Linked DNA regions of Homo sapiens: all the other regions are linked to region 1. The links are contacts of gene promoters, found by promoter capture Hi-C in blood cells and fetal thymus (Javierre and others, 2016). All regions are on one chromosome and are shown on one strand. The core of a region is centred on a gene start or on the middle of the fragment in contact, and the rest is flanking DNA. Distances in the headings are between cores, read along the strand shown.

Region 1 (3,950 bases), core at 736-3,235:
GAATACAGCTGCTAATTACTTCCTAACAATTTGAACAAACTACAAAATAAAGCTAAACACTTTCACTTCTGGCTCTACTATAAAGATTTCATAATAAAATAAAATATAAAAACAAAGTTTTACCTTTCTGTAAAAGGTCTACGTCTGGCTTTCTACAGCAGAATATTACTAACCATTTTTTAAAAATCATCAATTTATGTTATTTTACACAAATGCCACCTCAAAGAATGTAGGTTTAGCTTAGTAATTCCAAAGTACATACGCCTAATACAAAGTGCAAGAAGTTTTTATGCACTGTAGCGAACGCACAAATAGAAACACCTTCTGTGTGCAGATGAGCTTATTTTATAGACACCTTTCCATTACCTCTTAAGAGCCTGATATCTAATGAAGCTTTCTGCAAAGGTACTTTGCTTAGCCTGGGCATGGATTTACTTGATTATCTGGGAAGCTGTCAAAATCGATCTGAAACTGCATTACATTCAAGGCACAGAATGTCAACTCCTGACTGGGCCTCCTCCTCTCTCCTTTCACAAGAGCGCCTTTAATATCCCCTAGCCTACATTTCCGGGCTCATGAGTCACTGAGAAATGAGCTCTAAGTTTCTCTTAGAATGCTGCTCAAATAGCTCCTCTACAGCATTCAAGGATCTGGCCCCAAAATACCTCTTTAGCCCAATACCCCCCGCCCCCTGCACCATGCCAACAAACGGAATTATCCATGATTTCTAGGCTTTGTCTTCTCGCTTTTGCTACCCCTTCCACACACCTCTTCTGCAATCCTCCTCTCCTAAATCCCATCAGGCCTTCAAGACTCTGCTCAGCATCCCCCGCCCAGGAAGCCTTCCAGGTTTCTGCGAGGCAGAAGTGATCGGTTCGGTTTTTCCGGGTGCCGTTCTAGCACTCCGTCGTTCTTTCACAGGACTTATCACCTCCTTCCCGGTATCGCAGTTATTTGTGTTCTCGTCTTATCTCTCACACCAGAGCCTAAGCTCCTCGGGGGAGGGGACCGGGGCCCGCTTCACCTTTGAATCCCTCCGGTGCGGGCCGACTACGGCGCCTGCACGCAGTCTGCGCTTGGGGTGGTTCCATTGAACTCCAGAACGCTCCGACCGCCCAATTCCTAACCAGAAATCAGTTAGGCATTTTCCTGAATTGGTCACAAAGCTGGTATCTGCCTCCCGACAACAGGAAGTTTACCAGGGGCGGGAGCGAGGCGCTGAAGCCCGGGTGCAGCCGGTGACAGTTGACCCGGCCCGCACTTCCCCGCCCGCCCGACTCCGGCCCGGACCACCACGCGCCGCCAGCCCCGCCAGAGAACCACGGGGGGAGAGGCAGGAGCGCCTGGACTGCAGGCCCCCGGGCGCCCCACGCCGGCGAAGGCAAAGGGAGCGTCTCAGCGAGGGACCGGAGCCGAGCCGGGCGGAGAGGGCAGGCTGGGCCCGGCTGCTCCCGGGGGCTCCGGGGACAAGCTGGGCCGGGGCCGCCGCCACCCAGGAAAATGGAGGCAGCCCCGGGGCCGGTGAGGGCCCAGCGGGGCAGGCGGAAGCCGGGCAGGCGTCCGCACCACGAGCAGGGCCGGCCGGGGGTCACTCACGGGGCTGGGCCGGGCGTTCCCTTCTCTGCCTCCGCGTCGTCGCTGTCCCCGTCCTCGGCCGCCGCCGCTTCGGGCTGCTCGTTCGGTCCCCGCGGAGTGGCTCGGACGCTCGGCCCCTCCGTTGTCTTCCGCCCGCTCCTGCTCCCGGCGACGGGCTCCCGCGGCGGCGGCGGCTGCGCGGGCGGACGGCTGCCCAGGGGCTCCCGCGGCTGCCGCCGCGCTGCTGCGCTCGCTTGGGCTGCGGCTGCTGCTGTGGGGCCCGGCGCCGCCTTAGTCTTCGCCTGTGCCCCCGCCCCGGCGCCTGAAGGCTCTGTGTCTCCCAGGCCGCGCCGCTCCCCGAACCCCTCGCCCCGCTTGCGGCCCGAGCCCGGCTTTGACGTGCGCACTGCGCAGCCGCCGAGGACGCGACGTCGGGCGGTGCCGCAACGCCCCCTTCCGCCTCGGGCGCCCCCGAGCGGCCGGCGGACTCAGGGCGCCGCAAGTAGGCGCGAGGCCCGAGCGGGAGGGGCCGCAGAGAAAAGCAGAAGCCAAGCCCCGCAGTTCCTCTTCCTCCGCCGCAGCTTCCAAGGCGGGGCTCAGCCCTTTCTCCTCCGCCTGAGCGCTCTTACTGCGGGAATCGCACGCCCACTTTCAACGACCACTTCCTCAACTCTTCAAGCTTAATTCTGCGAGAGGCCGGGATCCCACTTTGTGCAGACCGATTCTTACTTTCTTGGAGCAGATCGCTTCATTTTAGCATCCAGGGGGACACAGCATCCAGGGGGACAAGTGCCAGAACGTTCCAGATTAATGGGAATATTCCTATTTAAATCAGCAACCTGGATTTAAGTCCTGCTCCACCATTTGCTATCTATGGGCTGTTTCACGTCCCTGTGCCTGGATTTCCTCACACATTAAAAAAAAAAGTGTGTAATAATATAGTGGTACCAGCCACGGGCTTCTGAGGATGAACGGGACAGTGCATTGCAAAGCTCTGACAACGGAGCCTGGCACATACAAATGCCATATGTGTGTATTTTTGTTTCTTTGTTTTTAATGTGTAACTGAACTACTTTTTAAGCGCCTCCTGTACGTCAGGGATGGGGCAGTGAGCGAAACAGTCCATGCTCCTAGCACAAACAGTTGACAAATAATTGACTAATAAACCTACAGGTATGTATAATACTGGACAATTGGGCCAGGCGCGGTGGCTCACGCCTGTAATCCCAGCACTTTGGGAGGCCGAGGTGGGCGGATCACGAGGTCAGGAGTTCAAGACCAGCCTGGCCAACACCGTGAAACCCCATCTCTACTAAAAATACAAAAAACAATTAGCCGGGCGTGGTGGCGGGCGTCTGTATTCCCAGGTACTTAGGAGGCTGAGGCAGGAGAATCGCTTGAACCCGGGAGGCGGAGGTTACAGTGAGCCGAGATCGCGCCACTGCACTCCAGCCTGGGCGACGCAGCGAGACTATCTCCAAAAAACAAAAACAAAACAAACAAAAAACAACAACAAAAAAACAAATACTGGACAGTTAAAAACACCACTGGGTGAGGAGGGGAGAGAAAGCAGGGTGTTGTTATTTACAGTGTTCATTCAGGGAGCAGCTTCCTGGAGAGAGAGAGCCTGGGAGCTTTCTGTATGGAAAGGCAGAGGGAATAGCAGGACCAAGGCCCTGAGGCGAGAATCTGCTGGCTTGAAAGCGGCCCCAGATAGGGGAAGAGATGAGGAAGAAGTGCGGCCCTACCAACCAAAGTTAGGACTTCCTGTTTTTACTCTCAAGGAGATGGGAAGCAATTTGAAGGGTTGCGAGCAGAGAAAGGACGTGGAATGACATTTCAGGAGGATCCCTGTGGCTGTGGTATGAGGACCAGACTGAAAGCCCTGAGGGTTTCAGCAGGGGGACCAGCGAGAAGCCTGTTGAAATCAGCCAGCCAAAAGATAAGACTGTCCGGCCGGGCGTGGTGGCTCGCACCTGTAACCCCAGCACTTTGGAAGGCCGAAGCAGGGGGATCACCTGAGGTCAGGAGTTCGAGACCAGTCTGACCAGTATGTTGAAACCCCGTCTCTACTACAAATACAAAAATAACCCCAGCTACTTGGGAGGCTGAGGCTGGAGAATTGCTTGAACCCGGGAGGCGGAGGTTGCAGTGAGCCGAAATCGCGCCACTGCACTCCAGCCTGGGCGATAGAGGGAGACTCCATCTCAAAAAAAAAAAAAAAAAAAAAAAAAGATAAGGCTCTGTCCAGGGTGGTGGCAGTAGAAGAGTAAAATGATCACCTGTAGACACGTTTAAAAGGTGGCTCACGCCTGGAATCCCAACACTTTGGGAGTCCAAGGTGGGAGGATCATTTGAGGTCAGTTCGAGATCAC
Region 2 (3,950 bases), core at 676-3,175, 470 kb after region 1:
ACAAACAATAATCGTTTTTATTCTCTAGAGAAAGTAAGTGGTGGGTAGGTATAATCAAGTTTTTATTATTAGTAGACATGAAAGACATCATCCTTCTCTAGCATATTTCTACTATAACATACACTTAGGAAAATTTAGCAGAATTATAGGATCCAAGGACAAAATGGATCTTTTGCCTGTGGCATGTACTCAGAGTAAAATGCATTAGGAAACACCAGCTCTGAATTCCACCTCCTGACACCCTGCAGGTCAGGGAGAGCAAGTCACTCCTTCCTTACCTGGCTCACACCTTGGCGAGGAGCTCAAGGCTTCCTGAGGCACTGCTATATCATCCATTTCATGACAGGCATTGCTGTTCTCTGCCGAAAGGAATGAAATCCCTTAGATGTCTTGATTTATGGTCAAAAAGCCATCAAAACAAGAAAACAAATAATGAGAAAACTAAGAAAACCTGATAATCTGGAAGGTCCCCTCTCCCCAAACAACCTGACCTGAGGATTCAGTCCTTCAGTAACCTTCACCAGAGGCTGAGAATAATTCATCCACTGTGGGGGAGTCTTCCTTTCCTTATACCTTGTTCTCTTTCCCATTTTCTCACTCATGTCTTTCCACCTGTTTCTGTACATTTCCTCAATCTCTGCCTCTGTTTTTTTCTGCGGATGTTTCTTGGAGCCTCTCTTTCCTAGATGCATTTCTCTCTTCTCTGCTCCTGCAAATTTTTTCTCTTGCTTTCTCTGATACTGCTCTTTCTCTCCCATCCTTGGTCTCCCAATTGTGCCTTTCTAGCTTTCTCTAAAGAAAGACCTCCCTTTGATCATATATTCTAAGTAGGATTTAGCTGGATTGGAGAAGGGTAAATGGAGGATAGTGGGACAGGAAAACAATTCTAAATAAGGCAGCATAGAGAAAACATAGGGAAAGGCTCAGTTTGAAAGAGAGATTTAACAATTGAAATTATTGGGGGAAATTTTATTCCACCTTGAAGTAATATTTCAGGAGGCAGGGATTAAGCTGGAGAAGTAAGCAGGTGGCTCATTGTGGATGCCTTTGGATGCTACTTAAAAACCCATTTATTTAATCCTTAGTGTATTAAGGAGGTAAGTAGGAAAATGATACAATCTGATGTGCACTTTAAAATATCCCATCTAGTTGAAGTGCAAATAACACATTTGATGGAAGCAAGATTAGAGGGAGGAGATGAGCAAAGGATGTTGCCCTGAGAATCATGAGGGTGATGGAGATCTGGACCAGAGACCTGGTCTTGGGGATGCAAAGATGGACAGGCCAGGGGCAACCTGAAGATGAAATGATTACATTGGCTGCATAACTGGCATGTATTTGAGGGCAAGGGAGGAGTCATCCATGATGACTTGACTAGGTTTCCAACTTGAAAAACCATGGGATAATAGTGATCCGTCTCTGAGAGAAAGAGTGCTGCAGAGGAGTTCGATCTAACTTGAGCAATGAAGATGTGGCTTTCAGTTCTCAAAGTACCAAGTTTAAGGTTCTTGAAAAAAATCAAGTGTAGATGTCTATCTGACCCTTGAGTAAAGGTCCTCAGGTCCATGAATAAATGTACTCTAAAGATAATTTAGAGTGGAGATTTGTGCTTGGGAATCATTGGACTATTCTGGGAGAGATCTATTGAAATCTGAGTATCATGCAAGTGCCACTTTGATGTGGGAACAGTTCATTCTGAAAACTTACGGTTAATGGAATAAACCCTTGTAAAGTTATGGATATCCAGTGCTCTTACCTCAAACCTACACTGTCCCAGTCTGTTTCTCTCTCCCTTTTATCCACTTTTCACTCTCAAGTGTTTTACACCCTTTTTTTCTTAACTCTTTATCTACATAGTTGCCTCTGTACCTCTCTACTTTCCCCATTTCTTGGTATTTATTTTCCTCTCATCTTTCCTTTTCCATATACTTCTCTCTCCATTTTTACCTCTGATCCTTGGCAGATGTTTCGGTTTACCTTTTCTCTGCTGTGTCTTATACTTCCTCTCTTTCCATTTCTGTTTCTCCCATTTCACTTTGATCTTCTATCTGCCAACACTATTTCAGTTTTGTCTCCCTGCGCAATTCTATCTTTCAGGCTCCCCTCTCTCTCCATATCCAAACTCCCCTCTTGGACTGTGACCACAGTACTAGAGACCCCTAACTGGTCATCTCCGTAAGGAATATCTCTCACCTGAATCTGATATGGCTTAGGTTATTTCTGAGTTTCTCTTAATAGTTCTATGAAATTAATTAAAAATAATCCCCTTATCTCAACCTCGGAGGGTAGGACTTTTATGTTCCTTTAGAAGATGGAATCCATTCATGTAATTTGTCCTGTATTATTCTCTGTCTACCTTTCCCATTTTCTCTTCTTATATTCTCCACCAATGGAGACTCCATCTATTCAAGAGATCAGATCTCCTTTTTCATTGGTTCTCTCACATCTGTTGGCAGATAAGGGCAGGTACATGGCTGTGTGAGGGGAGGAGGACTGGGAGATAACAGAGGGCTAAGACAGGAGAGGAAATACAAGATTTGCCTCCATGAAGGCAAGGAAGCAAAACTTTAATAAGGGCATTGATCAGCTAAATGATAGTTACCTTGTTTACCATATGGTAGTAATCTGGGTCTATCTTCTAAATCGTTTACATTATTCATTTGGAGAGGTGAGTGTTCATAGCATACTGAGGAAAACAATGTGAAAATTACCAAACTCAGACAGTGACCAGAGGAGAGACCTCAGTGTGCTCAAGATGAACTTGATGTCCAAGCCCCAGGATCTCCCACCCCCGAGGTCCAACAGAGCCTTGTTCCCCTTTTTTTCATTGAGAGGCACATATCTTAAGTGTAAATCATTGTGAAACCAACATCCCAGTCAAGATTCAGAACATTTCCACCATCCCAGAAAATTGCTTTGTGCTTAAGACACCACTGTTCTGGTTCCTATCACCAGCAATGGCGCCTTCCTTTCTGGCACTGTACTTGTCTGTATTGTCTGTACTTGTACTTATATAAATAGGATCATGCAGTATGTACTCTTACAACTTGCTTATTTTGCTCAACATAATGTTTTTGAGATTTATCCATGTTGCTCTATGTGATAACAGTTCATTCTTTTTATTGCTGAATAGTATTATACTCTATAAATTAGTCATAGTTTATCTACCCTCCGTTGATGAGCATTTGGGTTGGTTCCAGATTTTAGTTATTATGAATAAGGCTGCCATAAACATTCTTAAACAAATCTTTGCATGAACATATTTTCATTTCTCTCATGTAAATACCTAGGAGTGAAACTGCCAAGATCATAGGTTAGATTTAACTTTATAGGAAATTGCCAGGCACTTTCCCAAAGTGGTCGTTATCATTTTACATTCCTACCAGCAAGGGATGGGAGGTCCAATTGTTCCATATTCTCATCAGCACTTGGTATTGTCAGTCTTTTTAATTTTAGCAATTCTAGTGAGTGAATGATATCTCACTATAACTTTAATTTGCATTTCCCTCATGATTAATAATGTCATACACTTTATATTCTTGCTGGACATTTTATATCTCCTGTCTTGAAATGTCTGTTCAAATCGTTTGTCCATTTTTTGAATTGGTGATGTGTCCTTTTATTATTCATTTATAGGAGTTCTTCATATTTTGTGAGTACAATCCTTTGTTAGATATGTGTATTGCAAAATATTGTCTCCCAGTCTATGGCTTGTTTTTTCCTTTTCTTAATGGTGACTTTGGATGCATAGTTTTTAATTTGTTGACATCTAACTTACCAAGTTTTTCTTTTATGATCCATGTTTTTTTGTGTCCTGTATAGCAAATTACTGCCTACTCTCAGTTTGCAAACACACTGTCTTATGTTTTCTCTTTTAGCAGCTTTATACTTGTAGTCTTAACTTCTAGATTTGTGATCCAACTTGAATTATTTTTTTGTGGATGTTGTGT
Region 3 (3,950 bases), core at 615-3,114, 440 kb after region 1:
GTGTTATAGATTTAAACATTAAAAAGTATTCCAAATATTCTAGAAGTAAGTAAACATGTTTCTAAATTATGAGGTGGACAATATATTTGCAAATTTTACATAAAACCTGGAAACCATAAATGAAAAGGCTGACAGATTTGATCAGATAAAAATTTCAAGCTTCTTTGGGATAAAGATACAGGCATATCTTAGAAATACTTGGTTTCAGACCACTGCAATAAAGTGAATATTGCAATAAGGTAAATCACACAAATGTTTTGGTTTCCCAGTGCATATGAAAGTTATGTTTACACTATACTGTGGTATATTAAGTGTGCAATAGCATTGTGTCTAAAATAAAATGAACATATCTTAAACATACTTTATTGCTAAATGTAATGCTCATGATCACTTGAGCCTTCAGTAAGTCATAATCTCTTTGCTGGTGGAAAGTCCTGCCTGGATGTTGGTGGCTACTGACTGACTAGGGTGGTGACTGATGAAGGCTGAGGTGTCTGTGGAAATTTCTTAAAATAAGACAGTAATGAAGTTTGCTAAATTGATTGGCTCTTCCTGAAAGATTTCTCTGTAGCATGCAATGCTATTGAGTAGCATTTTATCACGGTAGATCCTCTCAAATCTTGCTGCTGCTTTATCAACTAATATATTCTAAATCCTTTGTTGTCATTTCAACAATGTTCACAGCATTTTCACCAGGTATAAATTCCATCTCAAGAAACTGCTTTCTTTGCTCATTCTTAAGAAGCAACTCCTTGTCCACTCAAGGTTTATCATGAGATTGCAGCAATTCAATCACATCTTCAGGCTCCACTTCTAATTCTGGTTCTCTTGGCTATTTCTGCCACACTTGCAATTACTTCTTCACTGATGTGTTGAACACTTCAAAGTCATCCACGAGGATTGTAATCAACTTCTTCTAAATTCCTGTTAATGTTGATATTTTGACCTCCTCTCATATATCATGAATGTTATTATGGCATGTAAAATGGTGAATCCTTTCCAGAAGGTTTCCAATTGACTTTGCCAAGATTCATCAGAAGAATCATTATGTATAGAGACAGCTATAGCATTACAACATGTGTTTCTTAAATATTAAGACTTGCAAGTTGAAATTACTTTTTGATCCATGGGCTGCAGAATGGACGTTGTGTTAGCAGGCATGGAAATAATGCTAATCACCTTGTACATCTCCATCAGAGCTCCTGGATGACTAGGTGCACTGTCAATGAACAGTAATATTTTGAAAGGAATCTTTTTTTCTGAGGAGTATGTCTCAACAGTGGGTTTAAAATACTCAGTAAACCATGTTGTAAACAGATGTTCTATGATCTGGGCTTTATTTTACTTATACAGCATAGGCAGAGTAGACTTAGAATAATTCTTAAGGGCCCTAGGATTTTCAGAATGGTGAATGAGTATTGGCTTCAAGGGAAAGTCACCTGCTGCCTTAGCTTCTAACAAGAGACTCAGCCTGTTCTGTGGAGCTTTGAAACCAGGCATTGACTTCTCCTCTCTAGCTATGACAGTTCTAGATGGCATCTTCTTCCAATAAAAGGCCGTTTAGTCTACACTGTAAAACTGTTGTTTAGTGTAGCCATCTTCATCTAGGATCTTGGCTAGATCTTCTGGACAACCTTCTGCAGCTTTTACATCAGCATTTGCAGCTTCGCCTTGCACTTTAATGTTATGAGACAGCTTCTTTCCTTCAACCTCAGGAACCAACATCAGCTAGCCACAAACTTTTCTTATGCAGCTTCTCACATCTTTCAGCCTTCATAGAATTGAGGAGAGTTTAGGCCTCACTCTGGATTAAGGCTTGGCTTAAGGGAATGTTGTGGCTGGTTGGATCTTCTATCCAGACCACTCATACTTTCTCCATATCAGCGATAAGACTGTTCTACTTTCTTATTATTCGTATGTTCACTGGAGTAGCACTTCATAACTTGGCTGATTGTTTGCTGCAACAGGCCTAGTTTTCAGCCTCTCAGCTTTTGACATGGCTTCCTAACTAAGCCTCACCATTTCTAGCTTTTTATTTAAAGTGAGACACATGTGACGCTTCCTTTAACTTGAGCCCTTAGAGGCCATTGTAGGATTATTAATTGACTTAATTTCCATATTTTTTTGTCTCAGGAAAGAGGAAAGTCAAAGAGAGGGAGAGAGACAGGGGAACAGCTGGTCAGTGAAGCAGTTGAAACACACACAACATTTATTAGGTTTGCCATCTTATACGAACACAGTGTGTGGTGCCATAGACAGTTAGAATAGTAACATCAAAGATCATTGTTACCACTGTTCATACTACCATAACAGGAAGAAGAATAATAATAAAATTTGAAATATTGCGAGAATTACCAAAATGTGACAGAGACACAAAGTGAGCACATGCTGTTGGAAAAAGGGCACCAACAGACTTTTTTTGACACAGGGTTGTCACAAACATTTAATTTGTAAAACTCACAATATCCTCAAAGTACAATAAAGTGAAGTGCAATCAAACGAGATGTGCCTATACCACAAAGAAACGTAAAAGAATAACATCAAATATGACAACACACGTAGTCAACCCTTAGTATATATCATATATAAGTATTCCTGTTGTCCTAAAGCATGGGGAAAAAAAGACAACACACTGGCAAAATATAAGTTCCAGGCACTCGTAGGAGAAGAAACAAAAATGGCCAATAACAAATGAAGAATGCTCAACTGCACCAAAAATGAAAGCAATGTAAGTTAAAACAGGAATGAAATAAAACTTTTTTTTACAGTTAAGTTGGCAAGATATTAAATGTTTATAATATCCAGTGCATGTTATATTGATTTAAAAAGAAATGTAACAGTTTAAATGTATTCATTTAGATATATCACATAATTCTAAATGTGCTAACAAAGCATAGAAAAAAATATAGAAATATGTACAGCAAAGTTTACAGGGAACAAGTATTTTAAAATCAGAAAAAAAAAGCATAAAGGTGTAAGTAATTTGAAAAAATATAAATTGTTAGTTTAGAAGATTGAATATAACCGTATAGGGTGAAATTTTTTTTTTGTCTTACAAAAGGTATTGCTGCTGTAATAAATTACCATAAATTTAGTGACAAAAAAATCACAGATTTGTGGTCTCATAATTCTGAGGGTTGGAAATCTGACATGCACCTAACAGGGCTAAAATCAATCAAGGTGTCTGCAGGGCTTTGCTCCTTTCTGGAGGCCACAGAGGAGCCTTTTCCAGCTTCGGAAGGCTGCCCACATTCTTTAGTTGATGGACCCCTGCATCCATCTCCACATCCAGCTCTATTCTCTCTGACCATTCTTCCATAGTCACACATCCCTCTCTCGACAGAAGGATATGTTCTCTGACTTTAGTGGCCCATGTGATCTTATCTCAAGATCCTTAACTTAATTACATCTTCAAAGTCCCTTCTGCCATGTAAAGTAACAGATTATAGGTTCTAGGAGATAGGACATGGAAATCTTTGTTTCTCTTGGTACAAAACCCTCAAGAGTCTTATGGATCTCCTGCATATATCATGGGGATTTCTGATTTCCTCCATTAGACATGAAGCTTCCCTACAGATCTTTCCTAGGAATTCACACATCTATTTTTTTTTTTTTTTATACTTTAAGTTCAAGGATATATGTGCAGGTTTGTTACAAAGCTAAACATGTGTCATGGGTGTTTGTTATACAGATTATTTCATCATCCAGGTATTAAGCCTCATACTTATTAGTTATTTTTCCTGATCCTCTCCCTCCTCCAACCCTTCACCTTCTGAACCTTCTGATAGGCTTCAGTGTGTGTTGTTCTCCTCTAGGTGTTCATGTGTTCTCATCATTTCGTTACCACTTATAAGTGAGAACATGTGGTGTTCAGTTTTCTGTTCCTGCATTAGTTTGCTAAGGATAATACTCTCCAGCTCCATCCATGTCCCTGCAAAGCACATGATCTT
Region 4 (3,950 bases), core at 915-3,414, 410 kb after region 1:
GGTGTGAACTTAGATTGTCTATTTGTGCTCTTTCAGACTTTTTGATGTAGGCATTCAATGCTATGAATTTTCCTCTTAGCATTGCTTTTCCTGTATCCCAGAGGTTTTGATAGCTTGTGTCATTATTGTCGTTCAGTTCAAAGGATTTTTTCATTTCCATCTTGATTTCATTGTGGACCCAATGATCATTCAGGAGAAGATTATTTAATTTCCATGTACGTGCCTGGTTTTGAGGGTTCCTTTTGGAGCTGATTTCCAATTTTATTCCACTGTGGTCTGAGAGAGTACTTGCTATAATTTCAATTTTCTTAAATTTGTTGAGACTTGTTATGTGGCCTATGATATGGTCTATCTTGGAGAATGTTCCAGGTACTGATGAAAAGAATGTATGTTCTGCAGTTGTTGGGTAGAATGTTCTGTAATATCTGTTAAGTCCATTTGTTCTAGTGTACAGTTTAAGTCCATTGTTTCTTGGTTGACTTTCTGTCTTGATGACCTGTCTAGTGCTGTCAGCAGAGTACTGAAGTCCCCCAGTATCATTCTGTTGCCATCTATCTCATTTCTTAGGTCTAGTAGAAATTGTTTTTGTTTTTGTTTCTGAGATGGAGTCTCACTCTGTTGCCCAGGCTGGAGTACAGTGGTGCAATCTTGGCTCAGTGCAAGCTCTGCCTCCTGGGTTCATGCCATTCTCCTGCCTCAGCTTCCTGAGTAGCTGGGAGTACAGGTGCCTGCCACCACGCCCAGCTAATTTTTTTTTTTTTTTGTATTTTTAGTAGAGATGGGGTTTCACTGCATTAGCCAGGATGGTCTTGATCTCCTGACCTTGTGATCCACCCACCTCGGCCTCCCAAAGTGAGTAATTGTTTTGTAAATTTGGGAACTCCACAGTTAGGTGCATATTTAGGATTGTGCTAGTTTCCTGTTGGACTAGTCCTTTTATCATTATATAAGGTCGCTCTTTGTCTTTTTTAACTGTTGTTGCTTTAAAGTCTGTTTTGTATGATGTAAGAATACCTACTCCTGCTCGCTTTTGGTGTCCATTTGCATGGCATATCTTTTTCTACCCCTTTACCTTAAGTTTATGTGAGTCCTTATGTGTTAGGTGAGTCTCTTGAAGACAGCAGGTGCCTGGTAAATTCCTATCCATTCTGCCATTCTGTATCTTTTAAGTGAAGAATTTAGGTCATTTACATTCAACATTAGTATTGAGATGTGAGGTACTATTCTATTCATCATGCTAGCTGTTGCCTGAATACCTTATTTTTTTCATTGTGTTATTTTTTAATAGGCCTGTGATATTTATGCTTTAGGGGGTTCTATTTTGGTATATTTTGATATATTGTTTTAAGATTTAGAACTCCTTTTAGCAGTTCTTGTAGCACTGGCTTGGTAGTGGTGAATTCTCTCAGCATTTGTTTGTCTGAAAAAGACTTTATCTTTCCTTCATTTATGAAGCTTAGTTTCTTGGATACAAAATTCTTGGCTGATAATTATTTTGTTTAAGGAGGCTAAAGATAGGATCCCAAAGCCTTCTAGCTTGTAGGGTTTCTGCTGAGAAGTCTGCTGTTAATCATTAGATAAGTTTTCCTTTGTAGTTTAGCTGATGTTTTTGCTTCATAGATTCTTTCCTTCATCTTAACTTTAGATAACCTGATGACTCTGCCTGAGTGATTATCTTTTTGTGATGAATTTTCCAGATGTTCTTTGAGCTTCTTGTATTTGGATGTCTAAATCTCTAGAAAGGCCAGCAACATTTTCTTTGATTATTCCCGCGAATATGTTTTCCAAACTTTTAGATTTCTTGCTGAGGAACACAAATTATTCTTAGGTTTGGTCATTTATCATAATCCTAAACTTCGTGGAGGCTTTGTTCATTTTTAAAAAGTTCTTTTTTCTTGTTGGATTGGGTTAATTCCAGAGCCTTGTCTTCGAGTTCTGTAGTTCATTCTTCTACTTGTTCTAGTCTATTGTTGAAACTTGCCAGTGTATTTTGTATTTCTCTAAGTATGTCTTTCACTTCCAGAAGTTGTGATTGATTTTTATTTATGATATCTATTTCTCTGGAGACTTTTTCATCCATATCCTGTATTATTATTTTAATTCCTTTAAGTTGGTTTACACCTTTATCTGGTGTCTCCTTGAGTAGCTGAATAATTGACCTTCTGAATTCTTTTTCTGGCAATTCAGAGATTTCTTCTTGGTTTGGATCCATTGCTGGTGAGCTAACGTGATCTTTTGGGGGTGTTATAGAACTTTGTTTTGTCATTATCAGAATTGTTTTTCTGGTTCCTTCTCACTTGGGTAGACTACGTTAGAGGAAAGATCTGAAACTCAAGAGCTGCTGTTCAGATTCTCTTGTTCCACAGGGTGATCCCTTAATGTGGTGTTCTCCCCCTTCCCCTAGGGATGGGCTTCCCGAGAGCCAAACTGCTGTGATTGTTATTGCTCTTCTGGGTCTAGCCACCCAGAAGAGCTACTGGGTTCTGGGCTGGTACTGGGGAGTATCTGCAAAGGGTCCTGTGATGTGATCTGTCTTCAGTTCTCCCAGTCATGGGTACCAGCACGTGCTCCAGTGGAGGTAGCAGGGGAGTGAAGTGGATTCTGTGAGAGTCCTTGATTGTAGTTTTGTTTAGTACACTGGTTTTCTCAAATGTTGGTTATGCTAGCAGTGAGGTTGTTACAGGGACAGACTCAGGATCTTTGGTTAGCCAGGATGTTACAGGCAGTATAATTAGTTGTTGTTTTCTCCTTCCTGGAGCAAGGTGGTTCTCGTATGAGTGTCTGTAATGACTTGAGTTGGCTGACCTTCGGCGAGGAGGTGGCACTTTCAAGAGACCATCAGCTGCAAGTAATATGAGGGGGATACAAGCTTGACCTAAGTTCACTGGATAAGTATTCGGTTTTCTCAGGTGATGGGTGAGGTCATAGAGCTCCCATGAGCCCCTGTCTTTTGTCTTCAGCTACAGGGGCAGGTAGAGAAAGACCATCAGCTGGGGGCAGGGTTAGGTGTGTCTGAGCTCAGATTCTCAGACAGGGCTTGCTGTGGCCACTGTGGGGGATGAGGGGTGGCTTGCAGGCCAATGGATTTATGTTCCAGAGGGGATTATGCCTGCCTCTGCTGCTTCATACAGTTCACCAGATAAGTAAGGGAAGCCGGCAGTGACAGGCTTCACCCAGCACCCAGGCAGCCAGCAAGGCCAGTCTCACTCCCGCTGTGGTGCCCAACAGCCAACAGAGCCAAATTTATATCCAGGCATCCTTTGCCTGGAGCTAAGATCTTGCCCCAGGAAGAAGCACCCCCATTGAGAAAGCAAGCAGGGCTTTCAGATCTCACCCCTCCCTGCCTGCCATGGCTTCTGCACTTATATCTGTACTTCAGGTTCACACCCCCAGATTCTGACCAGGAAAATTTGTGCTTGGTTAAAATTATTACAAAGTTCAGCTGGAAGCCTCCTTCTCCCCATGGCTCTCTGCAAATTGTACTGGCTGCCCTCCCCAAGGACTGTGAGATAAAGTCAGAAATGGCTTCCCTGGGGACTGAAATGCTTATAGGGATCCTTGGGGAAGGCACCTCTTCCTGCTGCTTATTCTACTTTTATATTTCACCCAGCTTTCTAAATTCATTTCAGCTCTAGGTTAGGTGAAATCCTTCTCCTGTGATCTGGATTTCCAGGTTCCCCAGTGAGGATATGTGTTCAGAGGTGGACTTTTTCCCTCTCACACTTTGAGGACTCACGGTTTTTTGGCTATCTCCCAGAGTTTGCGGTGGCAAGCCACTTCTTTTAAAGGGTGTGTGACTTCCTTCAGTTTTGCTGGTATATTCCTGCAGTGGTTCTTGGAGCAAAAGTTCACAGTGTGAGTCTCAACACGCTGTTCTGTCCATCTGAGTAGGAGGAGCAAGTTAGTCCTGCCTCCTATCTGCCATTTTGTTCTCCAAACCCATCTTTTCA
Region 5 (3,950 bases), core at 953-3,452, 390 kb after region 1:
CCCTGCCTTCTGGACCTCCCCCAAGGCTGAAGCCCTCAAGCTTGCCCCGCACCTTGAGGCCCTGCAGGACACTCCTGCAGTCCTTGCAGGGCACGCTGATGTGACTCGATGCTGAGCAGTTGAAAACATTCAAAAATAGTGGGCAAATGGCAAAAGCGGGTGGTATGGAGTGAATTAGAAGACATGAGGTTTCATGTAGTGCGTTTCATCCAGACAAGTGTGGCAATGTCCCCCACCCCAAACCCAGTCTCCCTGAATGAGGGGAAAGAGCTTCACCTTCCTTTACCCTCAGGGTGTAAGAGTTAAAGAAAGGGGAAAGAAACATGAAAAGTGGCTCAACAGTTAAAGACAGGTTTATTTTGGAGAATAAACCTGAGAGGGGATTCTGGTCAGTTTTGGTCAGGAGCATTTTCTCTTACTGACTAAGGGTATCTAAGGGTTTAGGAAGTGGGGAGCTTATAGCAGGCTGGGAATGTTTCCATGTGAGAGAAGGTTTATTGTGGGGTTGGAATGTCTCTGGTGGGAGGGGAGGTTGTCTCAGGGTTGGCATGTTTCTGGTTGGAGGGGGGTGGCTTATCTTAGGGTTGGAATGTTTCTGGTTATGCTGACATTAGCCATTAGGCTGATGTTTTTGGGCTGGATTTAGGGGGCTTTTTAATTAAGGTGAACTTAAAATTGTGGTGTTTGTCCAAGATGATGGTGCTCCTGCTCTGTCACAGGGCTCCTCTGAGTCTTAGCTTCCCTTTGAGCCCCAACTGCTGGACTGAAAAAGAACGACTCTCTACAGGTTCACCACGTTTCACATTCTGGAGATTCCTGATGGCATCTTCCTGTGTTCACCAGTGGGTCCCCATTAGCACAAATATCAGCTATCATCGGATATTTGGAACCAGGCAGCTCCATGTTGGATGTACCCCACAAGGGTGGAACTAAGGCTGTGGGGTCAAACCTGCCCTCAGAAAGGTGGAGGAATGTCTTCTGAGCTGTGGTGGGACTGAGGTCTCCTTGTGAGCTTCAGGGTCCCAACAATGCTGGGCTGGGCACCACCAGGAGTGGAGAGAACCTGGAGGCTGGGGCTGGAGGCAGCAAAGGCTTCAACGAAATGTGCAGCCTTTTAACAAGTCCTCACTCCTAATATTTCTGCAAACCTCCATGTGTCTACTAGTTTCAGCACAGTGAGCTGGAATGGAATGGTCCCTGGACTATCCTAGATCTTAGGACTGCCAGGTGATGCATGTGTGGTGAGAGAAGGAGAGTACCTCGTGGACCATCCAGATGGTGTCCACCAGCACCTCATGGGCAGCAACTTTCATTTCTTTGGGCTGGAAAGTGGGTGCTCCTATGAAGAACAGGGTACCTGGCAAGGACCTCAGTGTTGCTGAACAAAGGAAGAGTGGGGTGGAAAGTGTAGCTTCATGAAGATTTAGAGATTATGAGACAGGAAGTACAGTTCTAGCAAAGGCCAATGCCCATCTGCCAACCATGGTCTGGAGGAGATGTGCAGGGAAGGGGTGGAGTCTGCCTTTCCACAGGTGCTCCTCCTGGAAATGTGGGTGGGAAACAGCTGACTGGACCACTAGGGGGGGTTCTCCCAGGGCACCTGTGCCTAGCAAGGGCTGAGAAAACCCTGTTTTGAGGATGAGGTGGGTCTTTTTAGCCTGTCAGTCATAACAGATCTGGTCTAGGAGAAATCCAAAATAAAGTCTAATGAGCTCTCACCAGGGCCAAGCGGTGGGAGCTTGGTGGGACAGCCCTGTGCATTTCTCATAACTGGTGCACGTGCTTTTCATGGGTACAAATGCTGTGCCCAGGGAACAGGTTGGCATCATATAGGGCCCCAGCCCACTAGCACAGGACCACCTGGTCTGGCCAGGCCATGAAATGGCCCTGGGAACCAGGCTTTGCTGGGAATCTTGTGTCTCACCTTGGGATGAGGTTGTCAGGGCCAGGTGGGCTGTAAAACTGTCAAGTGGAACAAGTTTTGGGGAGCAGGTGGCCTCCAGGGCCTTCTGGTCCAATGTCTTTCTGGACAACATACTGACACAGTTGTGCTGATTCCCACAACAATGACATTGAAGTTGAAAACTCATCCATCTCAAAGATCAGATGGTTGTAGATGTGTGGTATTATTTCTGGGCTCTGTTCTGTTCCATTGGTCTATATCTCTGTTTTGGTACCAGTATCATGCTGTTTTGGTTACTGTAGCCTTGTAATATAGTTTGAAGTCAGGTAGCGTGATACCTCCAGCTTTGTTCTTTTGGCTTAGGATTGTCTTGGCAATGTGGGCTCTTTTTTGGTTCCATATGAACTTTAGTTTTTTCCACCCACAGGATTATAAATCATGCTGCTATAAAGACACATGCACATGTATGTTTATTGCGGCACTATTCACAATAGCAAAGACTTGGAACCAACCCAAATGTCCAACAATGATAGACTGGATTAAGAAAATATGGCACATATACACCATGGAATACTATGCAGCCATAAAAAAGGATGAGTTCATGTCCTTTGTAGGGACATAGCTGAAGCTGGAAACCATCATTCTGAGCAAACTATCGCAAGGACAGAAAACCAAACACCACATGTTCTCACTCATAGGTGGGAATTGAACAATGGGAACATTTGGACACAGGGTGGGGAACATCACACACTGGGCGGGGCCTATCATGGGGTGGGGGGAGTGGGGAGGGATAGCATTACGAGATATACCTAATGTAAATGACGAGTTAATGGGTGCAGCACACCAACCTGGCACATGTATACATACGTAACAAACCTGCACATTGTGCACATGTACCCTAGAACTTAAAGTATAATAATAATAAAAAAAAGAAAACTCATCCATCTCATCTGCTACTGATCCATTTTCTTGATGTATAGGGGAATAAAGGGTAAGTTCCCTGACAGATCCACTTATGCAGCTACTAGCCAGTTGAGAATGGCCAGTGGACTCAGTCTAGTAGGTGACACCCTCCTTTCCAGAGAGAATTGGAGACCCCTCTGCACTCCCAACACATACCATCTATGGCCTATTACACCCTCTCTCATGAATAATTCTAGAGGATGTTCAGCCCATTGAATGTGGAGCTATGGAAGTGAGGGGCTCGCATTTATCTCAGAGCCTGGATTCCAGGCTCAGCTGTGATGACAATAATGGTATTCTTGAGCTGTGCTTGTAAGAATTTGGAATTGGAAATTGGGTCCTTCCCCACTGGGGAGCATGAGGAAGTGGGGCTGGGATTTACCATTTATCATTCAGACAATGGCACAATGCAGGAACCCAGGAGTTATTTCTTGTATTTCCTGAATAAGCACAAAACAAAAAGCACCAGCCAGCTCCTGTACAGCACTCTGGGCCACATGTACTGACACAGATGTTACAAAACCATCTAAGAGCAGACATGTCCACTGGCATGCAGAGTGCACCAGCCATGGGCACAATCCCATTCTGTGAGACTCAGAGGAGTGAACACAGACACCAGAGAGAGAGCCAGAAGTGGTGGCTACATCATTATATGGCCAAGACTCGAGGTCCTGAGATCTCAAGGCTGAGGTCCTGCATCCTCCTCCCCACCCAGACTCAGGCAACTGTGGATGAACCCTCTGGAGGATGAGGTGAACAGGAGATGGAAAGTGGTCCTACCCACCTTTCTGGCAGCTCTGGCAGGATGCGGTTAAATATGTAACCACATGTCTCAGTAGAGAAGTAACCCCCTTCCCTGAACAGGCCACACCCTAGTTTCCTGCTTAATGCTGGCGGGGCCACACTATACAACTCTAGAGTGTGCTGTCCTTGTGTGAACTGGTGTAGACTCTTTCAGTCACACACAAATGGAGTTCGGCGGAAAATGTGAATGAAGATTTCAGGAGAGCAATATCTCGGTGTTGATGTAAGGTAGTAAGAGGTGGTTTCATGTCAGATGAAAAATTCCAGCCCAGAGGAATCT
Region 6 (3,950 bases), core at 1-2,500, 350 kb after region 1:
AGACTCTGTCTCAAAAAAAAAAAAAAAGAAAAAAAAGAAAGAAAGGAAAAAAAAGAAAAGAAAAGAAAATGAGAAGTTAGAGTAAAAGTACAGTACAGAGTTTTTGTAGGCTATCAGCTTAAAACAGCCTATTATAACTATAAGATATTTTTTGTAAGCTTCATGTTAACCACAAAGCAAAAACCTATAGTATTTACACAAAAGCTAAAGAGGAGTCAAAGCATACCACTAGAGGAAATCACTTAATCACAAACGAAGGAAGAGAGAAAGAAAGGAATAAAGAATCTACAAAGCAGGCTGGGCATGGTGGCTCACGCCTGTAATCCTAGCACTTTGGGAGGCCGAGGTGGACAGATTGCCTCAGGAGTTCGAGACCAGCCTGGGTAACATGGTGAAACCCCATCTCACCTAAAATACAAAAAATTAGCCAGGCTTGGTGGCATGCGCCTGTAGTCCCAGCTACTCAGGAGGCTGAGGCAGGAGAATTACTTGAATCCGGAGACGAAGGTTGCAGTGAGCCAAGATCATGCCACTGCAATCTAGCCTGGGTGACAGAGTGAGACTCTGTCTCCAAAAATAATAATAATAATAATAATAATAATAATAATAATAGATAATAATCCACAAAACAACCAGAAAACAATGAACAAAATAGTTGTAGTAGGTACTTGCCTAGCAATAATTATATTAAGTATAAATAGTTATGTTAAGTATGGATTAAATTCTCCAATCAAAAGACAGAGTGGCTGAATGAATAATAATAAAAAAAAACTCAAGTATCTATGGCCTACAAGACACTCACTTCACTTTTAAGGATACATATAGACTGAAAATGACAAGATAGAAGTGAATATTCCACGCAAATGCAAACCAAAGAAGGAAGGAGTAGCTATACTTATATCAGATGAGATAAATTCAAATTGAATACTAAAACAAGACAAAGAAGATCATTATATAATGATGAAGCAGTCAATTTGTTAAGATGACATAATAATTGCACACTAATATATATGCACCCAACATCTGAGCAACCAAATATATATTAAATAAATATTAATAGATTTGTAGGTGAGACAGACTGTAATACAATAATAGTAAAAGACTTTCATACCCTACTTTCAGCACTGGATAGATCATTAAGACAGAAAATCCACAAAGACAAATAAAATGTAAACTATATTTTATACCAAATAGACCTAACAGCATCATAAAGAACATTCTATTCTACAGGAGTGAAATATACATTCTTCTCACTTGTACATGGAACATTCTCCAAGATAAATCATACATTAGGCTACAAACTTAAAGTCACGAAGGTTGAAATTATATCAGGTATCTTTTCTGACCACAATGATATAAAAGTAGAAATCAATAACAAGAAGAGTTTTTTAATTTTGTAAATACATGGAAATTAAACACACTCTTGAGCAGCCAATAGGCCAATGAATAAATTAAAAGGAAATTTAAAAAAATATTGAGACAAATGAAAATGGAAACACAACATAACAAAACTGATGGGATACAGCAAAAGCAGTTCAAAGAAGAGGAGTTTGTAGCAATAAACACCTACATCAAGAAAGAAGAAAGATCTCAAACAGCCTAATGTTACACCTTAGGAAACTTCAGACAAAAAAGGAAAACTAAAGCCAAGATTAGTAGAAAGAAGGAAATAATAAATATTAGATCAGAAATAAATGAGATAAAGACTAGAAAAACAATGAAAAGATAAACTAAACAGAGTTGGTTTTTGAAAAGGTAAACAAAATTGACAAACATTTAGCTAGACTAAAAAAAAAGAAAAGACTCAAATGAATAATATCAGAAATAAAAGAGAAGACGCTGTAACTCATACTACAGACATACAAAGGACCATAAGAGATTGCTATGAACAATTATACACCAAAGAATTGGATAACCTAGAAGAAATGGGTAAATTCCTAGACAGATACAACCTACCAACACAAATATAAAAACCTGAGCAGACCAATAATGAATAAGGAGATGTAATCCAGAATTGAATACCACCCATCAAACAAAAGCCCAGGACCAGATGGTTTCACTGCTGAATTCTGCCAAACATTTAAATAATAAATACTGATACTTTTCAAACTCGTCTAAAAAATTGAATAAGGGGTCTATTTGTAGGCTTAGTCTATGAAGCCAACATTACCCTGATACCAAAGTAAGGCAAGGACACTATAAGAAAAGAAAACTACAGGCCAGTATCCCTGATAAACATATATGATATCCCTGATATCCCTGATAAACATATGTGAAAAATCCTCAAAAAATACTATCAAATCAAATTCAACAGCACACTCACCATGATCAAGTAAGCTTTATCACTGGGATGCATGGATGGTTCAACACACAAATCTTAAAAGGTCATACGTTGCATTAATAGAATGAAGGACAAAAATTATATGATTATCCCAATAGATGCAGAAAAAGCATTGGACAAAATTCAACTTTTTTCATGATAAAAATTTTCAACAAAATAGTTATAGAAGAAATGTACCTCAGAACACTACCATCTACATATGACAAGCCTACAGCTAACATCATAGTCATTAGTAAAATGTTGAAAGTTTTCCCTCTAAGATCAGAAACAAGAGTAGGGTGTCCATTCTCGTCACTTCTAGTCAACACAGTACTGCAAGTCCTAGACAGAACAATTAGGCAAGAAAAAGAAATAAAAGACATCCAAAGTGGAAAGGAAGAAGTTAAATTGTTCTTAATTGTAGATGACATGATCTTATATAGAGAAAACCCTGAAGACTCTACCAAAAAACTGCTAGAACTAATAAATTTGGTAAAGTTGCAGGATACAAAATCAACATAAAAAATCTGTTGCATTTCTATACGCTAACAATGAACTATCTGAAAAAGGCATCAATAAAACAATCCAATTTACAATGAAAATACTTAAGAATAAATTTAACCAAGGAGGTGAAATATTTGTACACTGAAAACTCTAAAATGTTGATTAAAGAAATAGAAGAAGAACAAAAAATGGAAAGATACCCCATGTTCATGGATTGGATTAATTAATATTCTTAACATGTTCATACTATCCACAGTGCTCTAAAGATTCAGCGCAAATCATATAAAAGTTCCAAAGACATTTTTTTCTGAAATAGAAAAACAATTAAAAATTTGTATAAAAGCACAAGAGACCCCAACTAGCCAAAGCAATTTTAAGCAAAAAGAACAAAGCTGAAAGCATCACACTACCTGACTTCAATATATACTACAAAGCTATAATAATCAAAAGAACATGGTACTTGCATAAAATAGACACATAGACAAATGGAACAAAATAGAGAGCTTGAATCCATGCATTTTTGGTCAACTGATTTTCAACAAAGGTGCCAAGAACACGCAATGGGGAAAGGACAGTCTCTTTAATAAATGATGTTGGGACAACTGGATCTTCACGTGCAGAAGAATGAAATTAGACCCTATTTCATGCCATATTAAAAAATCAACCCAACATGGATTAAATATTTAAATTTAATACCTGAAGCTGCAAAATTACTGGAAGAAAACAGGGGAAAAGCTCCATGACATTGGTCTGAGCAATTATGTTTTTGGTATGACACCAAAAACACAATCACAAAAGCAAAAATAAAGAAGTGAGACTACATCAAACTAAAAAGTTTCTGCATGGGCAAGGAAACAATCAGCAGAGTGAAGAGACAACCTACAGAAGGGAGAAAATATTTGCAAACCATATGTCTGATAAGGGCTAATATCTAAAATATGTAAGGAACTCAACCAACTCCATACTAAAAAAAAAAACAAAAACAAATAAACAGATTATAAAGTGGGCAAAGGATTCAAACAGATATTTCTCAAAGGAACACATACAAATGACCATCAGGTATGTGAAAAAATGCCCAGCATCACAAATCATCAAGAAAATACAAATTGAAACCACAATGACTATC
Region 7 (3,950 bases), core at 794-3,293, 290 kb after region 1:
CTGGAAGTTGCAAGACAGTGAACTAAATTAATTTCCAAACTCTGCATTTATACTTACCAAATATTTATGCAGTTGTGAGGATTAAGGATAAAATTTTTTTTCCAGACATGTACAATTTATATATATATATATATAGTGTCTCTCAATTGAATCCCAGTAAGGTAGGATATATATATATATATATGTATATCTTCTATAAACTCTTAGTCAGGAGGCTACTGGATAATGTGGTAAACCAAAATGAGATAGTAAAGCAAGAAAGAGGTATACATGTAATCCACAAAACAAGACCCAACACAGGAGAGATGTCAAGCTTCAAGGTCAGCCTTGGAAGCTGAAACTAACCAGAACTGATGGAATCAGGGGAATGGATAATTCCAGGAGGGTTTCCCCAAGAAAGTAAAATGGACTTGATAAATTACCCAATGTGCCTCACTGTACTGAAAAGAATTTTAGAATTCTGCAGAGTGCTTGGGAAGAATTCATAATGAGGACACACAAAATCCAAGCAAATATATAAGAGGGCAATAGTTATTTGTGGGGTCGGCGGGGAGGGGCGGGAGGATGTTGCACAGGAAAGGAAATGTAATCATAATATAGTAGATGACTTGGTTATGAACAACATGTAAATAGTCATCATAATGGTAACACTGATTACTGATGAACCTCCAACTGTGATGTATTATGAGAATGGACAGGGAATGAAAAGGAGTGTTATGGAAAAAGTCTTCATCTTCTGTCCTATTATGTGAACAGATTAATGTCTGAAACTTGAAAAATTACAAAGAGCTGTATCAGCACATCATTTCAAAATACAGAAGTAAATACAAAAGTAAGAGCCAAAAAGTTAATCCATTAGGGAAACTGGACATGGGCTGGGAAGATGGCAGAAAGTACTACTTGTGTTTTTAAAGGTCTTATTGACTGATACTTTAAGCTATATATATATATATGTTTTACTTTGGTGAAATTAATAACCGAATTAATAAAATGTTTCAATATAATTTACTGTGGATAAATCAGATTAAAAGAGAAAAATGATACAATTCTCAAAGATTCTTTAGTAGGCATTTTGATAAATATCCTATACACAGGCCTGATTAAAATAAATAACTTTTAGTAAACCAGAGCCAGCAGGAAATGTCCTTAACTTGAAAAAAGGTGTCTATAAGAAAGCCTCAATTTAAACATTATAAGTATTCCCCTTGAAATCAGGAATAAAACTAAAATGTTCATTTTTACTGTTACTATTCAGTATTACACTGGCAGTCCTGGCTAATGCGCTAAGGCAAAAGAGAAAGAAAAAAGAAAGAAAAAGAAAAGTATACAGGTATAAATTCTGAAAAAGAGGAGACAAAGCTGCTACTATCTTTGAAGATGTAATTATTTCTCCAGAAAAACACAAGACAATATTAAGAGGGAGAAGACCACTTAGTAAGACTCCTATGCACAAGATCAGCTAACTAAAATGAATAGATTTCCCTTATGCCAGCAAGAAATAACTAGAAAATGTAAAAGGAAAATGAATTCCTGTTTACAAATACAATTTTAAAATGCCTAGAACTAAAGCGACCCAACAAGGTCCCAAGTTCAAACAATCATGAATAAATGGAGAGATTTACTATGTTTCTCACTGGGGCCATTCAGGATTTTTTTAAAACATAAATTCTTCCTAAATTTATCTGTTCATTTAGTGTCTCTCAATTCAATCCCAGTAAGGTAGGTTACAGAACACTACCTATAAAATCATAGTAACTAAAACATTTCAGTATTGAAACAAGAATGAAAATAGAACCATGGATCAGATCATGGGTCACCAACGCAAATTCATATGTAAAATTTAGCACACTAGTTCCCTTCTATCCACAGGGGATGCTTCCAAGAACCCCAGTGGATGCTTGAAACCGCAGATAGTACCAAACTCTGCATATACTATGTTTTCCCCAATCTGTACATAAATTAGGCACAATAAAAGATGAATAACAATATCTAATAATAAAGTAGATCAACTATAACAATGTAGTGTAATAAAAATTATGTAAATGTGGTCTCTTTTTGTCTCTCAAAACATCATACTGTAGATATTAACAACCTCAGCATATTATTTTTTTCTTTCAGGAAATTTCACATTTTCACCTAAAGGAAGCCCTTGACGGCTTCTCTTTGGCATATCTGAATTGCCAGCATCAACCTTCTTGTGCTTTGGGGCCATTATTGACTAAAATAAGGGTTCCTTGAACACAAGCTCTGTTATACCAGGACAGTCGATCTGATCACCAGGACAGCTACTCAGCGACTCATGGGCTGGTAGTGTCTACACTGTGGATACCCTGGATAAAGGGATGGTTCACATCCTGGGCAGGATGGAGAGGGACAGCATGAGATTTCATCACACTCCTCAGAACGCCAAGTATCTTAAAACTCATGAATTGTTTTCTGGAATTTTGCATTTAATGTTTTTGGACCAAGTTTTACTGCAAGTAACTGAAATCTCAGAAAGTAAAACTGTTGATAAGGGAGGACTACTTTAGTTAATAATGGCATAAAAATATCAAATATCTATGAAGGAATCTAGCAGAAGGGCAAAACCTTCAGAGAGAAAAATACAAATTTTAATAGGAGACATTTTTAAAGTAATAATATACATAAACCATATTCATGAGATGGAAGTCTCGTGAATGTAAAGATGTCCATTCTCTTCAAATTGATTTATAGATCCAGTGCAGTTCCACACAAAATCTCGAGATTTTGACAGGCAAATTTGGGAGTCTAAGACATTCTGGAGGAAGAGGAAGAGATTTGCTCCCTCAGATGTCAAGAGTTCCTGGGAAGCTGCCATCACTATGGCAGCGTGGTACTGGCATAAGGAGGGGCTGTCACCGGCCAAGGGGAGAGAAGAGAGAACACAGAAGCACACCCTGCCTCTATACTCCCAAAAAGGGTAGCACTGCGAATCAGCAGGGAAAAGGATAATTTAATCAATCAACGGTGAACTCAGAAAAATTGATAAGAATCAAAACAAAGACTTCAAACTGTAGCTCAGACAAAAAACAATTTGATCTCAGATAAAACAGGGAATGTTAAAAAAAAAAAGAAAAAAAGTTCATCCAGATTATGACTAAGCAAACGGGAAGTTTGGGGTGACCTGCCCTGGCCAAGCCTGGCTAGAGGAGCTGTAAAGCCACCACAGGCACGTGGAACACAAGATCAGACAGAATCAGTCTGGAAAAATAACTAAGAGACAACAAGGAGAATATCCCAAAGTTCTTAACAGCACAGGCAAACCTAAATAAAGCAAGACTGTGAAGACTGAATGACAAGAGGTTATGGAGCTTGCAGGCGTACAGAAACCAATTAAGATCCCTCCTCAAAAATAAACACTATCAATTTTTAAAAAATTAGAAATGACAAGAAACAAGAAACCTACTAGAAGGTAAATAATTGTCATGGAGGAAAAGTTTGAGACAACTATTATGAACACAAAGTGAAAGACTGAAAAGATGAAAACGGGGCAAATAAAAGCTGTGAAGGCTAAAGTGGCTCCAATGTAAGAATATTTTTGTTTAAAAATTTAAAAAATTTTCAGAGATATTAGAGGAGGAACTCTTCCTGGAATAGCGGTAGCAGCGAATCTGCCACCTTAACACAGAAATAATTGTAAAAACTAAGAGTGCTCACAGAGGGTGTCAGCATCACCTCGTTTATAACAAGGGTGCATCTATCTTAAAAAAATCTGTATCACAAGAGGCCTATATGTTAAGTTTTAAGCTTTAATAAGATAAAAGTCACCATAGACAAAGGTAATGGACAAGAAAAGTATATTTATACTTACAGAATATTTAGTGAATTCTCCCATATCACGAAAAAAAGGACAAACACCTCAACGGAATCATATTGGCAAAAAACAAACAAGCAATTTATAGAAGAGGGAATTTAAATGGCCAAGAAAC

Evidence for each region. The method cuts DNA at HindIII sites, captures the fragments that hold promoters and counts their contacts. A CHiCAGO score of 5 or more calls a contact.
Region 2: a contact is called between a fragment that was not itself captured here and the fragment with the promoter of CAB39 in region 1, in 2 of 17 cell types (naive B cells and total B cells). The highest score is 6.8, in naive B cells.
Region 3: a contact is called between a fragment that was not itself captured here and the fragment with the promoter of CAB39 in region 1, in 2 of 17 cell types (total B cells and naive B cells). The highest score is 8.3, in total B cells.
Region 4: a contact is called between a fragment that was not itself captured here and the fragment with the promoter of CAB39 in region 1, in 1 of 17 cell types (naive B cells). The highest score is 6.9, in naive B cells.
Region 5: a contact is called between a fragment that was not itself captured here and the fragment with the promoter of CAB39 in region 1, in 5 of 17 cell types (total B cells, total CD8 T cells, non-activated CD4 T cells and 2 more). The highest score is 7.1, in total B cells.
Region 6: a contact is called between a fragment that was not itself captured here and the fragment with the promoter of CAB39 in region 1, in 3 of 17 cell types (naive B cells, activated CD4 T cells and total B cells). The highest score is 5.8, in naive B cells.
Region 7: a fragment that was not itself captured here is called in contact with the fragment with the promoter of CAB39 in region 1 in 2 of 17 cell types (non-activated CD4 T cells and naive CD4 T cells); the score reaches 6.2 in non-activated CD4 T cells.

The regions. Positions count from the first base shown.
Region 1 is chr2:230,710,877-230,714,826 of GRCh38, reverse strand. It overlaps CAB39 (calcium binding protein 39), which reads right to left and starts at 1,985. Exons shown (of 9, transcript NM_016289.4): 1 at 1,597-1,985. LOC124907996 (formin-like protein 16) reads left to right here and starts at 1,501. Exons shown (of 4, transcript XM_047446832.1): 1 at 1,501-2,748. The coding sequence starts at 1,501. The coding sequence ends at 2,259. RefSeq lists a silencer at 1,274-2,213. The HindIII fragment of the contact is 1,861 bases long and covers 396-2,256 here.
Region 2 is chr2:230,240,140-230,244,089 of GRCh38, reverse strand. It overlaps SP140 (SP140 nuclear body protein), which reads right to left. Exons shown (of 27, transcript NM_007237.5): 4 at 2,603-2,686; 5 at 279-359. Among named protein-coding and RNA genes, the nearest start is that of SP140, 16 kb to the right of the region's middle. The HindIII fragment of the contact is 7,592 bases long and covers 1-3,950 here.
Region 3 is chr2:230,273,779-230,277,728 of GRCh38, reverse strand. The region is part of intron 15 of SP140 (SP140 nuclear body protein); the gene reads right to left. Among named protein-coding and RNA genes, the nearest start is that of SP140, 50 kb to the right of the region's middle. The HindIII fragment of the contact is 3,406 bases long and covers 162-3,567 here.
Region 4 is chr2:230,299,043-230,302,992 of GRCh38, reverse strand. The region is part of intron 22 of SP140 (SP140 nuclear body protein); the gene reads right to left. Among named protein-coding and RNA genes, the nearest start is that of SP140L, 26 kb to the left of the region's middle. The HindIII fragment of the contact is 1,414 bases long and covers 1,458-2,871 here.
Region 5 is chr2:230,319,134-230,323,083 of GRCh38, reverse strand. No RefSeq gene overlaps it. Among named protein-coding and RNA genes, the nearest start is that of SP140L, 6.1 kb to the left of the region's middle. RefSeq lists an enhancer at 3,458-3,607. The HindIII fragment of the contact is 4,319 bases long and covers 43-3,950 here.
Region 6 is chr2:230,363,373-230,367,322 of GRCh38, reverse strand. The region is part of intron 5 of SP140L (SP140 nuclear body protein like); the gene reads right to left. Among named protein-coding and RNA genes, the nearest start is that of SP140L, 38 kb to the right of the region's middle. The HindIII fragment of the contact is 2,179 bases long and covers 161-2,339 here.
Region 7 is chr2:230,417,739-230,421,688 of GRCh38, reverse strand. All of the region lies in intron 2 of SP100 (SP100 nuclear antigen), which reads right to left. Among named protein-coding and RNA genes, the nearest start is that of SP100, 3.5 kb to the right of the region's middle. The HindIII fragment of the contact is 3,455 bases long and covers 316-3,770 here.